Linked DNA regions of Homo sapiens: region 2 is linked to region 1. The links are contacts of gene promoters, found by promoter capture Hi-C in human tissues and cell types (Jung and others, 2019). All regions are on one chromosome and are shown on one strand. Each heading gives the region's core, a stretch centred on a gene start or on the middle of the fragment in contact. The rest is flanking DNA. Distances are from core to core; before and after follow the strand shown.

What was found. Contacts are between HindIII fragments. The study calls those that stand out against the background at their distance.
Region 2: a fragment that was not itself captured here is called in contact with the fragment with the promoter of ADAM7 in region 1 in 2 of the 25 tissues and cell types used here (H1 embryonic stem cells and dorsolateral prefrontal cortex).

Annotation. Positions count from the first base shown.
Region 1 is chr8:24,439,727-24,442,317 of GRCh38, reverse strand. It overlaps ADAM7 (ADAM metallopeptidase domain 7), which reads right to left and starts at 1,292. Exons shown (of 22, transcript NM_003817.4): 1 at 1,158-1,292. The coding sequence starts at 1,209. All of the region lies in intron 1 of ADAM7-AS1 (ADAM7, ADAMDEC1 and ADAM28 antisense RNA 1), which reads left to right. The HindIII fragment of the contact is 5,540 bases long and covers 1-2,591 here.
Region 2 is chr8:24,513,187-24,515,777 of GRCh38, reverse strand. The region is part of intron 1 of ADAM7-AS1 (ADAM7, ADAMDEC1 and ADAM28 antisense RNA 1); the gene reads left to right. It overlaps ADAM7-AS2 (ADAM7 antisense RNA 2), which reads left to right and starts at 910. Exons shown (of 5, transcript NR_125809.1): 1 at 910-992; 2 at 1,114-1,203. The HindIII fragment of the contact is 4,644 bases long and covers 1-2,591 here.

The sequences.
Region 1 (2,591 bases), core at 43-2,542:
AATTGACACTGATATTTACAAATCAGGAGAATATAAGGAAACTTGGAAAGGAGCCAAAGAAATCAGTGTCCCTCCATTTCCTCCATATTTTCGCCATGTTCTGCAGCTGTAATTTTATTTTTTGTTTCATTTATTTATTTTTTTGAGACAGAGTCTCGCTCTGTCAGCCAGGCTGGAGTGTAGTGGCGTGATCTCGGCTCACTGCAACCTCCGCCTCCCCGGTTCAAGCGATTCTTCCACCTCAGCCTCCCAAGTAGCTGGGATTACAAGTGCACACCACCATGCCTGGCTAATTTTTGTATTTTTAGTAGAGACGGGGTTTCACCATGTTGGCCAGGCTAGTCTCAAACTCCTGACCTCAGGTGATCCACCTGCCTCAGCCTCCCAAAGTGCTGGGATTACAGGCATGAGCCACCATGTCTGGCCTGCAGTTGTCGTTTTGTTATCCTCATGCCAACCTCTGGATTTTGTCTCCTGTCAAAGCCTGCACTGTTGTCCTGTTTGAATGTAAATTACTGAATTTGGTCTTCCAGGGATGTTTGCATTTAAAGTCTTACCTTTCGTAGTTAAGTATAAGACCTTTACCTGTTAAAGAATTTTGGGTAGCCCTGCATCAGTGCCAACCATAATCTTCTATTCATGTCCTATCACCTTGATAGTCATCTGTGAGATGAGCCCTGCTTAATTAAGGTGTGATACTTAAAGAGCAATAAAAAGGAGAGGGCATGGGGTTTCTGGAATATGCTCTGATTTGAATCAAGCCTTTACCAATTTATTGTGTGGCCAGCAGTAGCATATTTAATTTCTCTGATCTGTAAATAGTCTCATTTTCCTTATCTGTAAAGTGGAGATATTAATTTCAAATTTTAAACACTTTAACATACAAAGCAGCTAATGGCCAGCACAGTGCCTGCCATGCTGCAGATATGCAGTACTTGTCCACTCCTTTCTCCTCCTCACTGTGGGTCAGAATGTTCAAGAGTGATATGGCATTACACAGATGCATGGAGTCTCATGATTAGCTGTAATCTAGTCGAAGCTCTCAGAAAAATCATCAACGTTTAATGTTTTTATCACTTACAGTTTAAAGTTTGTGACTAAAGAGACACAACCTCACAGCATAATAAGAAAGTCCTGATAAAAAGAGCAAGACATACCTTTAACCTGAGGAATGAGTAAAATCATCAAGAATATACACCCGGGAAGCATTCTGAGTGATTCTGGTAGAGGAGAGCAGAAGTGCTTGAGAAAAGGAGTTCACCTTTCTTCCTCCTCACTTCCACTGCAGGGATGAAGCACCTCACAGATAGGTGGGCAGTTTTGATCCACAACAAGGAAGTGTTCCTTGAGGGAGTTACACAACTTGCTAGGTGCTTGAGGCTAAAACCTGGAGGTTGAACATCATGTTCTAATTAAAGACAACTACCGAGGTGGTGGTGGTGAAGGTTGGCTGGACATAGATTCCTACGTCATGTCTAATATAAATTTGATTCCAGATATCTGAAAACTTCAAAAGTGGAAAAAAATCAAGAATGTCTTAGGAAAAAAATGTTGAAAAATATTTATATATGCTTTGGTTGAAGATGGTTAAATTCTTTCTATGCAGAGTATGCCATATAAAAACTAAAAGGAACATTTGTTAAATGAGAAATATTGAAAATTTATATGGCATAAATCACATATTAAAATTAAAATATCCAAACTACAGAAATGTATGTAATAAATAAATAAAAGGTGGGAGTAAGTGTCCATATAATATAGAGCCCTTTCAAAGCAATACAAAAAAGAATACCAATGGACAGATGTGCAAAGGGCCTCGACAATTCCATCTGTATGTCTGTGTTCTCTTGTTATGTTAGTAGAGTTATCCCATGGCCAATAGAATCCTTTTATCTTCATTTGGGATTCTATTTCTCACCCGCATCTATATGTCTCTAATATTTCCACAAACTGAACGAATCTATGTCAATTGGAAGCTTCCTTTTGATATTTAGACCCTCTGCTCCAAGGACGACTTTTTCTACAAGGAAACATAAGAGGAAAAATCCATCTGACATTAATATTCATCCATTGTGGTTGAAAAACAGAATTGTCCTCATACAGTTCACTTGCTCCCAGTTAGCAGCCATGTATAGCAGCATTATAAAATATAATCCCCACTTTGCAGGTGGGGAAATTGACACTGATATTTACAAATTGGGAAAACATAAGCAAACTTGGAAAGGAGGCAGAGAAATCGGAGTCCCTTGGCTTAAAACGGGGGTACCATTTTAAGTCAAGTCAAAAGTCTCTCCTTTTTGAAAAATTCTCTCTATTCTATATCTCATATACTCTTACTATCACTTTTTCTCCCATTTCCTTTACAGCTAAATTTCTAACACAGTATTACCTGGACTTCTTGCAATTTTCTTACCTCAAACTTATCCTACCACATCCCAGTTCTAGCATCTGCCTTTATTATTCTACTGAAATGGCCAATATCTCCAGTGATTTTACCATTTCTATATCCAAGAGATATTTTGTTTCCTCATCTCATTTGCCCTTTTAACAATTTTTAGCACTGTTGACCACATCCTTCCCCTTGAAATATA
Region 2 (2,591 bases), core at 29-2,528, 73 kb before region 1:
CCTGGGCCATGTAGCAAGACCTTGTCTCAAACAACAACAGATAACCACAGCATAGAATATCCAATGCAGCCTGTCTTTAATGTCCTCTCATACCATGCTTTCCTATATACCTCATGATATAACTACACTAACCTACTTTCTGTGATCAGACCTACCAAACTCAGGTATGCTTAGACTCGCTGCTTCTCCCTGGAATGTTAATTCTCTGCTTGGCAAACCCTTGTACCTTTGTTAAGACCTTGATTAAAAGTTACCTCTCTGACGCCTTCTCCATTCCAACAAGCATTAGAAGCCTCCTCTTCATTCCCCTGGGCAATTTCACCTACTGCCTTCCTCTTTGGTGCCATGTATCACATTAATTTATTTTTCTAATTTTTTTCCAGAATTTCATTTTTCATGTATATGTGGCAATGTATTTTATTTTTAAACTTTTAATTTTTAATTGTTGTGGGTACAGAGTAGGTATATATATTCAGAGGATACATGAGATGTTTTGATACAGACATCACATAATTTATGACCATCCATTTAGAAGCCTGTTTTGCTTGCTCACAAAGCTTGGTTTTCTCAGGGCAGGGCTGTGTACACCTACATATCTACATGTCCCTAGAATAATACCTCTAACACAGCCAGTATGCGATGAGTACATGTTGAACAAAGACGTTAATGGATAAGTAAATAGAACCTACATGGCATCAGTCCACATTCGTTTTTTACTTTTCTAAGTTTTTTCCCCTCTGAAATCTGTAAGTGTGCTTAATCTCTGCCTCTGCTTTTTTGTTATTGTTTCTGTTTAGAGGAGTCACAGAGGGATCCTAGTGAAGAGGATTATAACTTTGCCTGTTTTGTGATGCGGAGGTGATGTCATGTTGTTCTACCATTTTATCATTGTTCCTTCTGAGCCTGAGTGTTCTTTCTCTTGAAGATTCAAGTGAACCAGGGAAGGAGAATGACATCAGACTGGGCTTGTGCCTGATAATTCATTTCTGAAGGTGCAATATTAAGTGTCACAGTGTCCAGCTGGTGATATTTTCAGCATAGAAACCTGTTAGACACGGCAGCATTAAGGAGATGGAATGAATTGATTTATTTCTCTTCTGAATTGCTTGGCAGTGCTTCAAGATTGACGCATCAGATTTGCACAATGTGCCACTTTAGGAGATTATTTCTTCCTTCCTTCAGCCAGACAGAAGACTGCAGTAGGTAATGATAGCTTAAACTTGGGAAATGTCCTTCTTCAGAGACAGCGTCACGGACATTTTGGAGAGGATCAGATTACTCTACAGCTGCTTTCCCTGGTGGACCTGAGGAGGCACACCCCTGAGCCAGGACTTTAAGGGAGAGGGTAGAACAACCTAGAAGCTCAGAAGGTCACTCCAACTATTATCTTCCCTTCTGTGACTTATTGACATACACTTTGATATCAAGGCACTGATGCTGATAACGTGAGAGAAAGGAATAGATTAATTATGGGATGAGGAGTATTTTAAATGCTAAAGGCTTTGTCTAAAATAATTCACATTTTTCCATCCAGTGGTTCCTCTCTTTGAATCCTGTTAGAATGACAGTAGATCTTTTAATTCTTTCCCCACTTTAGGCATGACTTTGAAGAACCTGAAGATGTGAAAATGAAATGGATACTGTGCTCCTTTTGGCTAGGATTGGGGAGGGCCCACTAACTGATCTCTACTACCCAGCCCCTTTCAACATCAAAGCTACTTTTTTTTTTTTTTTGAGACAAAGTCTGGCCCTGTCGCCAGGCTGGAGTGCAGTGGTGCAGTCTCAGCTCACTGCAACCTCTGCCTCCTGGATTCAAGGGATTCCCCTGCCTCAGCCTCCCGAGCAGCTGGGACTACAGGTGCATGCCACCATGCCTGGCTAATTTTTTGTATTTTAGTAGAGACGGGATTTCACTTTGTTGGCCAGGATGGTCTCAATCCAAAGCTACTTTTAGCAGGATTGAACTCTGAGGTCATCCAGTGGCCAGTTGTGATGCTGTCACTTTTAAAACTGGAATGAGTTACTGTTCGGATGGTGGCTTTGGTCTGAGGCCTGTGATTCCTGTTTTGCCATTTCTTGGCTGTGTGTTTGAGGACCTCTTAATCCCTAGCCTCCTCATTTGTAAAATAATCCTTCCCATGGACCTTGTGCATTTCATGGAAATGCAGTAGTATGGGGTCTGGAAGATTCTTTGTAGGCATTCTACCTTTCCCTATGTGTTCCAAGTGACCCTCATCTGGTGCATTCTTCATTTGATTAAAGCAAGGAAGGAAGCTTTAGCAGAGGGCTGTTATCTCTTGATTGGCCGCTGCCATCCCCTGACCCACCGTCTTCCCTTTTATGCACAGTGATGGCAGAGACAGCAACAGACAGCTTGCCCAAACACACTAAGCTGAATTAAAGCACCACCCAAGTAGAGGTCTATTCTATTAAGAAGGGATCATCCAGAAATTGAGGTCACTATAACACAAGGGAAAGATTCAAGGATCCCAAAGTGTCTGCTAGGAAGTGGCCAATGAGGGCTTCAAAGAGTGTTTAAGTTTTAGTCCATCCCCAAATACAGTTCTTCCTTGGACAAAAACATCTCAGCC